Linked DNA regions of Homo sapiens: region 1 is linked to region 2. The links are contacts of gene promoters, found by promoter capture Hi-C in human tissues and cell types (Jung and others, 2019). All regions are on one chromosome and are shown on one strand. Each heading gives the region's core, a stretch centred on a gene start or on the middle of the fragment in contact. The rest is flanking DNA. Distances are from core to core; before and after follow the strand shown. Region 1 overlaps CTNNA3 (catenin alpha 3). Region 2 holds the start of DNAJC12 (DnaJ heat shock protein family (Hsp40) member C12).

Region 1 (6,050 bases), core at 3,077-5,576, 1.3 Mb after region 2:
GGGCGTGGTGGCTCACGCCTGTAATCCCAGCACTTTGGTGGAGACAGAGGCGGGCAGATCACGAGGTCAGGAGATGGAGAGCATCCTGGCTAACAAGGTGAAACCCTATCTCTACTAAAAAATACAAAAAATTAGCTGGGCGTGGTGGCGGGCGCCTGTACTGTAGTCCCACCTACTTGGGAGGCTGAGGTAGGAGAATGGCGTCAACCCGGGAACCGGAGCTTGCAGTGAGCGGAGATTGCGCCACTGTGCTCCAGGCTGGGCAACAGAGCAAGACTCCGTCTCAAACAAAAAAAAAAAAAAAAAAAAAAATGGAGAAAGGCAAGTCATATTTTAAGCCAGAATAATTTTAATAGCAAAACCTTTCCATTATAAAAATTACAGAGAAATATTCTTCGTGAATATGAATGCAAAAAAATCCTTAATAAATATTAGCAAAAAAATCCAATAGTATATAAAAGGATAATATGTTATGACCAACTAGAAACATTTAAAAATGTATTATAAGAAAGATACATATTTTTCAGGAAGTGCAAAGTTGCTGTAAGACTCAAAAATCAATTGTTGTAATTGATTTTTAATTGATTTAATTAAACATATGAATTTACAAAATACTAAAATATTGGATGATCACTTGAATACATGCAGAAAAATATCTGACAAAATCAGAATTTTAGCCAATTAGGAATCAATGGAAAATGTTCACAGCTGATAAATGACATCTGACAAAAAAATCTATAACATCTAATGGAATAATGATACTTGAAAGCTTTCCTTTGGAATTGGAAATAAAATAAAGATGTTTACAATCACACTTTTCTATTGTCCTAGAGATTCTAATTGAGGATGAAATATGAGAAAAAGAACAGAAAGAGGAAGAATTGGAAATAATTTAATGTAGAGAAAATACAATGCAAAGACAAATTATAATACTTAATAAGTGAGTTAGCCAGTTTCTGGATACAGTGTCAGTATTTTAAAAAATCAATTGCAATTCTATGTACTAGAAAAAAGATATAAGCAATGAAGTTTTATAAAATATAATATATTCAATAATATCAAAAATATCAAATACAGCCAGGCACGGTGTCTCACACCTGTAATCCCAGCACTTTGGGAGGCCGAGGTGGACGGATCACCTGAGGTTCGGAGTTTGAGACCAGCCTGACCAACATGGAGAAACCCCATCTCTACTAAAAATACAAAATGGGAGCCGGACATGGTGGCACATGCCTGTAATCCCAACTACTGGGGAGGCTGAGGCAGGAGAATCACTTGAACCTAGGAGGTGGAGGTTGTGGTGAGCCAAGATTGCACCATTGCACTCCAGCCTGAGCAACAAGAGTGAAACTCCATCTTAAAAAAAAAAAAAAATCAGATACTAAGAAATGATGTAACAAAAAGTTATGCAAGACCTGTATGCAGAAAACCAAAAATCATAATTGAAAGAAACATGTGTGAAGACCGAAATCTATATCTGTATTTCTCAATCTAACTATGGTCATGTTTATGGATTGTAAGACCAAATATTTTAAAGCTTGCAAATAACCTTAGGCTGACCTATAAATTTAATGCAATACCAACCAAAATCTTTAAAATATTTATTTATGAACTTCACAAATTAATAAGAAGTTTCATATAGAAAAATCAGGCTGGGTGCAGTGGCTCATGCCTGTAATCCCAGCACTTTGGGAGGCCGAGGAGGGTGGATTACGAGGTCAGGAGATCGAGACCATCCTGGCTAACATGGTGAAACCCCGTCTCTACTAAAAATACAAAAAATTAACTGGGCGTGGTGGCGGGCGCCTGTAGTCCCAGCTACTTGGGAGGCTGAGGCAGGAGAATGGCATCAACCCGGGAGGTGGAGCTTGCAGTGAGCCAAGAATGGGCCACTGGACTCCAGCCTGGGCAACAGAGCAGACTCTATCTCAAAAAAAAAAAAAAGAAAGAAAGAAAAATCAAAGGAACAAGAATAAGTTATATACTCATTTAAAAGATTAGGTTAATCATTAGTGCTGTCTATCCAATATTTTATTTTCTCCTCTTGGTTGAGGTGATGAGTGGTCGTGTGACGTGTTTTGTTAATGAAATGTGAAAGTGACATTTGTGACTCCTGGCTAGAAGATTTAAGAGCCAATTAATAATTCACCACACTCTATCTACTTCCTTCTGCTAAGGTAATTAGCAATATGTGCAAGAGAGTAGCTGTTCAATCAGTGTGGGCTCCAGAATTAGAAGAAATCAAGTATATTCTCCAGACAACCCAAAATGGACAACTAGAGAGAGCAAGAAAAACAAAACAAAAAGCTCTGTTGTTATAAGTCACTGCAATTTAAAATTCTTTGTTATTGCAGTATAATCTACTCTGACAGAAACAAAGTGTAACATGGAAGGAATTACTCCATGGGACATATCAAATCTGATAAAAATAAAGTAATTAAGACCATGACTATGGTTTGGCTGTGTCCCCACCCAAAATCTCATGTTGAATTGTAATCCCCATGATCCCCATAATTTCCACGTGTCAAGAGTGGGACCAGGTAGAGGTAATTGTATCATGAGGGTGGCTTCCCCCATGCTGTCCTCATGATAGTGAGTGATTTCACAAGATCTGATGGTTTTATAAGCATCTGGCATTTCCCCTGCTTTCACTTACTCACATCTACCGCCTGATGCCTTGTGAAGAAGGTGCCTTGCTTCCCCTTCACCTTCCACCATATTTGTAAGTTTCTCGAGGCTTCCCCAACCATGCTAAACAGTGAGTCAATTAAACCTCTTTCCTTTATAAATTACCCAGTCTTGGGCAGTTATTTATACCAGTATGAAAACAGACTGATCCAACCATGTTGTACTGAATCAAGGATAAACAAATGGAATAAAAATACAGAAATATACATTTATTATTATGATTATTATGATGATGATTTGATGCTACAAAAGTGGGGAAAATATATTCTTTTCAGTAAATGATGCTGTGACAATTACATGCATGTGAAAGTAAATGAAATTTGAGTTCTCCCTCATATCTTTCATGTAAACCAATTCCATGTGGATTAGTAACTTAAAAGTGAAAGCAAAAACATATGTTTTTAGAAGATAGTGTAGAATATCTTCATAAGCTTGGGATATGAAAAAGTTTTAATAGGAAATAAGAGTAGTAAACATAAAAATAAACAGGAGATAATTATACTGCATGAAAACTAAGGACCTGTGTTTATCAAAATACATCCATAAGAGAGTGAAAGTATAAGCCTTCACATGGAAAAATATATTTGCAAAATACTTAACTGACAATGAGTTTATATCCAGAAGATAAATATATTATATTTAAATATATAATATATAATGTACATACATAATTTTATGTAGATAAAACATACGTATATGTTTGTAGATATAGATATACAAAATATACAAAGACAGAAGCTAACCACTTGGGAATGGGCAAGTGACTTAAATATACTAATAACAAATGACAAAACCCAAATATCTAATGAACATATAGAAAACAGAATAATCTCTTTAGTTATTGGTAACTCCGAATAAAAAACACAACTGTATTCTCTCCAGAATGGCTATAATTTAAAAGATTGACAATATCAAGTGGTGAAGATGTGAAATATCAAAAATACTCATATGTTGCTGGGAGACTACATCAGTATGGACACCTTAGAAACATGTTTAGCATTGTCTTCTGAAATGAAAAGTTAATACACTCTGTGACCCAACCATTCCACTCCCAGACACATAATCTGAAGACACTGATGCATATAGGAATGAGAAAATATTAATAGCAGCATTAATTGTAATTTCCTAGAAGCAATCCAAATGTTTGACAGTAGAATGGATTTGTGTTATATTTATATAATGAAAAAAGGAACAACAAAATAAATGATTTATAGGTACATATAGCAATCTGGATGAATCTCACAAGTGTAGTATTGACTAAAATAAGCAAGAAATAAAGCTGCTGTTTTTGTAAATTTCAGAAAGAAATAAAATTATACTGTTTAGAAAGGGACGTTTATGCGGTAACATTAAAAAGAAAAATTAGCATATAAGGGTGTGTAATTTATGATAATATTCTTTTCCACAACTTGGGTATTGGTTATAATTATTTGTAAAGCTATACATTCTGTTTTATAGACTTTTAATTTTTGTTTTATTTAACCATATGAAAGCTTAAAAGAAGATAAAATATCCTACCCGTTCAACTTTAGTATTCCTTCTGCATATTTAAGATTCATACATAAGTGTATTTTGTTAAGTCACTGTGAGAGAGTTCTACTATAGGGTGATTAATTACAGGAACAACAGTCCTCATCTTTCATGATTTCTAACTAGAAGATAATGGTTTGTTACATAAATCTTTTCCCAAACCAGTAGAAGGACAGAGAACACCGTTGGTTTATTTGGTCCTAGACACATTTAAAATAATGAAAAGTACACAATATGCATTATCTTTTCCATGAAATGCAAGAAAGTTCTTAGTATTATTTAACAACACAATCTGTAATATTTTACAAAGCTTTCTTCTGATAGCTTTTGTTTACTAGAGTGTGGGCTTAAGATAAAAGCAAAACAAAACACAATTATCCTATAGATATAAATTGAGTGCTGACTTCATTTTTCCTGAGGTGGTAACTTATTTGCTCAAATGGTACGACTAGATGGTCATACAAGTTTAAGGCACAGAATAATCAAGAGATTTATTAATTTGAACCTAGGATATATTACTAAAAACACAGAAATTTCTTATATTTTCTGTTAAAGCAATCTCAGTCCACATTTATTAAAATACTCATCTAGCTTGGTTTTTGGGCTATATCCTCATCAAACGATGGTAATAGGAAATGAACCAAAGTGACATCTGTAGTCTCAGCAACTTAAAGTTTGCTTGCAATGATTAGTTTTCCTTTCCCAACCCTCTGAAATAAGGTCTTCTCAAGCTTTAGGATGTGTTCAACATTAAGTCTTCAGTTAAGACATCTTGCCTATATTGGAAGAGAAGGGATTTTATAGGTTAATAGGCTGCATGGTATAAGGTGGGAAAGGGTAATTTACTAGGAGGCTAATACATTTACTGGGAAATTGGCCATCCTGTATCTGTCATAGTTAGCAGATTAAAATATTTAATGCCAAAGGGGACATAATAGCCAATGAAGCCTTGAGTCACATTACTGTGTGAAGTAAATTCTAAAATACTATTCAATCTTCTGCATTAACTTGTTTCAAAGGCTGAAGCAGTAAATAAAATTACTAATGGAGCTGGCAGATAGGTCATCCATTTAGCTCAAAAGGAGATAGAATAAAATAAAGAAAAATGCTGAAGAACAAATATATATATATATATATATATATATATATATATATATATATACACACACACACATCTCAAGAAGGATTAGCTAAATTCAGAAAAAGCAAAATTTAGCAATTTTAATACATTCACCTATTTCACCATATACAGTGGGAGAAGAAACTTTAAAAAATTAACTCACAATGGTGAATTGGATGTTGTTACAAGCTATTCACAGCTTTCCTTATAATTGAAATAAGATTCAGAGATGAACAGAGGTTCTAATAGGAAAGATTTTGAATCAGCTCTAAGAGAGCTTCATTTTTTCTACTATCTTTAGAAATGTAATTCATTAAAAAATACAAAAATTTTAAAGTAGAAATTTCTTGTAATTTCTCTACCAGAAATCATGATGAATAATATTTGGTGTATAACCTTTCAGCTTCTTCTGTGTAGGTAGTTGTCTCTATAAAATGTATCACATATATTTTTAATTTATTTTTTTCTTCACTTAAAATAACTTAAACCCCTTTCCATGTTATTAAATATTGTTTAATGTAATTTTTCATGGCTGCATAGCATTTTATTAAAAACCTGCATTCTGGGCGGGTGCAGTAGCTCACGCCTGTAATCCCAGCACTTTGGGAGGCTGAGGTGGGTGGATCACGAGGTCAGGAGTTTGAGACCAGCCTGGCCAAGATGGTGAAACCTGTCTCTTCTAAAAATACAAAAATTAGCCGGGCTCAGTGGC
Region 2 (5,844 bases), core at 2,823-5,322:
TCCCCTCTGCACTGCCCTAGTAGAGGCTCTTGGTGAGGGCTCTGTCCCTGTGGTAGGCTTCTTCTTGGGTACCCAGGCTTTCTTATATATTCTCTGAAATCTAGGAGGAAGCTGCCAAACCTCCTTCACTCTTGCATTCTGAACACCTGCAGGCTTAACACCACATGGAAGCCACCCAAGGCTTACAGCCTGCACCCTTCTGAGCTGTGGCCTGAGCTGTACCTGGGCCCCTTTGAGCTGAGGCTGGGGCTGAAGTGGCTGGATGCAGGAAGCAGCCTCCCATAGTGGTACAGGGCAGCAGCACCCTGAGCCTGGCCCCCTAAATCATTCTTTTCTCCTGGGCCTCTAGGCCTGTGATGAGAGGGGCTGCCTCTTAGATCTCTGAAATGCCTTTGAGGTTTTTTTCTCATTGTCTTGTCTATCAGCCTCTGACCTGGCTCCCTTTCATTTATGCAAATCTCTTTAGCAAGTGGTTGCTCTGCAGTCTGCTTAGATTCTTGCCCTGAAAATGGGTTTTTGTTTTCTACCACATGGCTAGGTTGCAAATTTTCCAAACTTTTACATTCTGCTTTCCCTTTAAATATAAGTTCCAACTTTAAGTCATTTCTTTGCTTCTGCATCTGAGGATAGGCTGTTAGAAGCAGCCAGGTCACTTCTTGAACACTTTGCTGCCTAGAAATTTCTTCTGCCAGATACCCTAAGTCATCACTCTTAAGTTCAAACTTCCACAGATTCCTAGGGCATGAATACCATATAGCTTTGTTCCTTGGTAAGGCATAACAAGAGTGACCTTTATTCCAGTTCTCAATAAGTTCCTCATTTCCATCTGAGACCTCATTAGCCTGGACTTCACTGTCCATATCACCGTCAGCATTTTGGTCACAACCATTTAACCAGTCTTGCAGGAGTTCCAAACTTTCCCTCATCTTCCTGTCTTCTTGTGAGCCCTCCAAAGTCTTCCAGCCTCTGCCCATTACCCAGTTTCAAAGCTGCTCCCACTTTGTCAGGTATCTTTATAGCAAGGCCCCACTCTTTGGTACCAATTTTTTGTGTCAGGCCATTCTTGCATTGCTATGAAGGAATACCTAAGACTTGGTAATTTATACTGAAAAGACGTTTAATTGGCTCACAGTTCTGCAGAATGTGGAAGCATGGAGCCAGCATCCGTTCAGCTTCTGGGTAGGCTTCAGGGAGCTTTTACTTATGGCAGAAGGTGAAGTGGGAGTAGACATGTTACATGGTGAGAACAGGAGTAAGAGAGCCAGGGGGAAGATACCACACACTTTAAAAACTTTTAAGCCGGGTACAGTGGCTCACCCCTCTAATCCCAGCACTTTGGGAGGCCACGGCGGGTGGATCACCTGAAGTCTGGAATTTGAAACCAGCCTGACCAACATGGAGAAACCCCATCTCTACTAAAAATTCAAAATTAGTCGGGCATGGTGGCACATGCCTGTAATCCCAGCTACTCAGGAGGCTGAGGCAGGAGAATCACTTGAACCCAGGTGGAGGTTGCGGTGAGCCAAGATCACACCATTGCACTCCAGCCTGGGCAACAAGAGTGAAACTCTGTCTCAAAAAAAAAATTATATTATTAATATAAAAATAAGGACAGAGTCTCACTATGTTGCGCAGGCTGGTTTTGAACTCCTGGGCTCAAACAATCCTCCTGCCTTGGTCTCTCAAAGTGCTGGGATTACAGGCATAAGCCACTGCAACTGGCCAATACCACACTTTTTTGTTTGTTTGTGTTAGACAAGGTCGTGCTCTGTCACCCAGGCTGGAGTGCAGTGGTGTGATCTCAGCTCATTGCAGCCTCCACCTCCTGGGTTCAAGCAATTCTCGTGCCTCAGCCTCCCAAGTAGCTGAAATTACAGGCATGTGCCACCACACCCAGCTAACTTTTTTGTATTTTCAGTAGAGATGAAGTTTTGCCATGTTGGCCAGGCTGGTTTCGAACTCCTGGCCTCAAGTGATCTGCCTGCCTCGGCCTCCCAAAGTTCTGGGATTACAGGTGTGAGCCACCATGCCCAGCCCTAACATTCCATTTGTTTAGTCATCCGTTGATGGACACTTGCATTGCCTCCACTTTTTGGCTATTATGACTAATGCCTTGATGAACATGAGTATATAAATATCTTTTCAAGTTCCTGCTTTCAATTCTTTTGTGTATTTACCCAGAAGTGGAATTGTGGGGTCACATGGTAGTTCTATGTTTAATTTTTTGAGGAACCACCATACTGCTTTCCACCATGGCAACTTCACATCATTAAAAGGCCATTTATCAGTGATTTAGATCAAGATATTGTGATCTAATTTTTTTTTTTTTTTTTGAGATGGACCCTGGCTCTGTCACCCAGGCTGGAGTCCAGTGGCACGATCTCGGCTCGCTGCAACCTCCGCCTCCCAGATTCAAGCAATTCTCCTGCCTCAGCATCCTGAGTAGCTGGGACTACAGGTGCGTGCCACCATGCTTGGCTAATTTTTGTATTTTTAGTAGAGACAGGATTTCATCACATTGGTCAGGCTGGTCTCGAACCCCCGACCTCGTGATCCGCCCGCCTCGGTCTCCCAGTGCTGGGATTATGGCATGAGCCACCGTGCCTGGCCTTAAAATTCTATATAGAACTTTTAGCAAGACAGCATGTACAATGAAGGATTAGTAAAAAATGGTGTTTCAGTGCTTTTTCTTGCTTCTCTTCAGAAATAAACCTTTAAAAAGATGTATATAGGTGGGCTAAAAGAAAAACTATTTTTTCCCCTCAGGTGGGGGAATTTAAAGTGTTAAGGGCCAGGCATGTTGGCTCACATCTGTAATCGCAGCACTTTGGGAGGCCAAAGTGGGAGGATCACTTGAGTCCAGGGGTTTAAGACCAATCTGGGCAATATGGCGAGACCCTGTCTCTCTGAAAAATGAAACAAAAAAAGTGTTAAGGCAGTCAAAGTGTTGTGTCCCTGACCACTCACCTTGTTCTCTAAATCCCAGACCTGAACTGTGTTTCTTAGGGCCAAAATGAACTGAAACATAAATTGCCTGGACCTACCTCAGACTAGAGACACTCCTGAGTCTGGAGAACCAACCCAGGAGAAATAGCACAGCCATCTGACCCGAGTTATCATACAGTTCTTCTCATTGTCCTATTTTATTTTCTCTAAAGCACAAATCACTATTTTATTTTTTTATTTTTTGAGATGGAGTCTTGCTCTGTAGCGCAGTCTGGAGTGCAGTGGCACCATCTCGGCTCACTACAGCCTCTGCCTCCTGGGTCCAAGTGATTCTTCTGCCTCAGCCTCCCAAGTAGCTGGACTACAGGTGTGGGCCACCATGCCTGGCTTACAAATCACTATTTTAAATGATCGTGTTTTTTTTTTTTTTTTTTTTTTTTGCATGTTTTTCAGCTGTCTTCCTCCATCAGAGCGTAAGCTCCATAAAAATCAAGACTGTGTTATTGGCTGGGCGCTGTGGATCATGCCTGTAATCCCAGCACGTTGGGAGGCCGAAGCAGGCAGATCGCTTTGAGCTCACGAGTTCGAGACCAGGCTGGGCAACATGGCAAAACCCCCTCCTCTTAAAACATAACAAAACAAAAACCAAAAATTAGCTGGACATGGTGCTATGTGCCTGTGGTCCCAGCTACTAGGGAGGCTGAGGTGGGAGGATCGCTTGAGCTGGGGAGACAGAGGTTGCAGTGAGCTGAGACTGCACCACTGCACTCCAGCCTGGGCAACAGAGTGAGACCTTGTCTGAAAATAAACAAATAAAAAATAAAATTAAGTATTTTAAACACTAAGAAAAGCTCCCATTATCCTTATTAACACATCCTAAGATTTTACCACATTGCTTCACATTTTTTTTCTTTTTTTTTTTTAAAGGATAGAGACAAAAATATATAGGAGATGGAGAAGTGGCTAATGTGGCAAGTTTCTGAAAATAGACAGTCTTTATTAACTCATAAGACAAATGGTTCACATGCATCTCTTATATAAACTCAAACTACAGATCCCAGGCAGCACTGCAATAATAGACACGTGGACTGTTCTTTTCTTCTCTGTAAACAGCCAATGAGAGGCAGAGTTTACAAAGGTCTAGGATGACATCTGGTGTATTGACTGTGGCCAGTCTTAAAGCTAGTTTTTGCTATGTGGAACATGCTGCTCTAATTCAGATTTAAAGAGTTTCTTCCTGTTAATTCGAAGCTCACTGTGCCTCTTGTTTCCGAGGGAAGAAGGACTGATTAAGTCATCTAAATGGATGCAATACTGAATTACAGGTCAGAAGATACTGAAGATTACTACACATTACTGGGATGTGATGAACTATCTTCGGTAAGACAGTGGATAATATTTTTATCACAACAGTATTCTTTTTCACAATAGTATTTCAAGTTTTTATTTAAGGTTTTAACTTTGAATTTTTAGTCACATTGCCTACAAACCTAACCTTGTGTTGTTTTAAAGCACTTTTGGCTCAGAGAAAGTTAAGAATTTAAATGTATGTTGGGATTTTACTTGAATAGTGTCCTATGGGAATTTTACGGAAGCTTCTGATTAAATATGTGTATTCTGGCACATGGCCATATGCTGTTTCACAATATAGTATATTAAAAATAAATATTTGAAATTTTATTGTAATTTCTGATGGCAGTGTTTCACAGTATATATAAGCTATACCTTTATTATGGTGACTCATAATTGAGGTGAAATGAAATTTCTTATAAAATTAGGGATTTTAATATATTTTATTAAAATGTGTACTCCTATGTGAGCAGTCAAAATAGAAACAAAGAAGCATCCCTTTATGTTAATATTTCAAATTGTGTGACAGAAATTACTTCTTGAAAGGGTGGCTTCTGAAACAAAACATGTGAAAACTCTGTAGCTGTTCACTGGATCTGTAAGAAAACAAAATTTTTAAAGTTCTCAATAAACAATTATAAAGGTTGTAGAGGTTTTTTAAATTATGGAAAAATCATTTATAATTCTCTCTCCCAAGGATAACAGTATTAATATTTTGGCATATTAATCTCCACTATTCTTTCTATGTATATTCTTTAAAGACCTGTTTGGGAGGATATTATATGTACTTGTTGATTCCTGCTTTTTACCCATTCGTATTATAACAAGGAATTTTCCATGCTATTAAACTTTCCTTGTACACTTTTTAGTGGTTGCAAAATATTTTATTTTGCTGTGTTACCACAGTTGAATTATTCTCTTATTGTTAAATATTTTATTTCCAATTTTTCAATATTTCAAATAATGTTGAGATTAATATAAAATATATTCATTATTAAATTATATATTATTAAATCATGTTATTAGGATATATTTATGTTTTATAATTAATGTATTTTATTTTATTTATTTTTATTAAAATCTAAGTAGTAAAATTAACATTGTAAAGCAAAATGTTTTTATATTTATTGTTGTTTCATAAAGGCAGTAGTTCATTAATAAAATGTGCTTAGTTTTGTTTTAAGAATAGAATGCATTACTGGACACAAAGGATTAAAATCTCTATTTTTGCCATGCTGAGGAAGTTATCTTAGACACGTTGAAATTAAAAAAACTGCCCCGCCCCCAGAATAGCTTATAATGGTCTTTTAGTTGCATATTTCTTCTCAAGAATGTGTTATTCTTGTTTATGTTGGTGGTGATTTGCTTATAGCAATTGAGAAAGCTTATTACCATTTTTACCATGTGTTATTCACAGTTGAAATTATACTATTATCAAACAATTTTTGAAGGAATAATTTAAAATCAAAGGAATATAATTTAACTTGATAAGGCTGACAATTTGGATTTAAAAAAATACATGCTAGCTTATACAGTAAGGGTCATTAT

Evidence for each region. Contacts are between HindIII fragments. The study calls those that stand out against the background at their distance.
Region 1: a fragment that was not itself captured here is called in contact with the fragment with the promoter of DNAJC12 in region 2 in 1 of the 25 tissues and cell types used here (dorsolateral prefrontal cortex).

The regions. Positions count from the first base shown.
Region 1 is chr10:66,543,242-66,549,291 of GRCh38, reverse strand. The region is part of intron 10 of CTNNA3 (catenin alpha 3); the gene reads left to right. Among named protein-coding and RNA genes, the nearest start is that of LRRTM3, 380 kb to the left of the region's middle. The HindIII fragment of the contact is 3,995 bases long and covers 2,329-6,050 here.
Region 2 is chr10:67,836,416-67,842,259 of GRCh38, reverse strand. DNAJC12 (DnaJ heat shock protein family (Hsp40) member C12) reads left to right here and starts at 4,072. Exons shown (of 5, transcript NM_021800.3): 1 at 4,072-4,326. The coding sequence starts at 4,249. The HindIII fragment of the contact is 7,681 bases long and covers 1-5,111 here.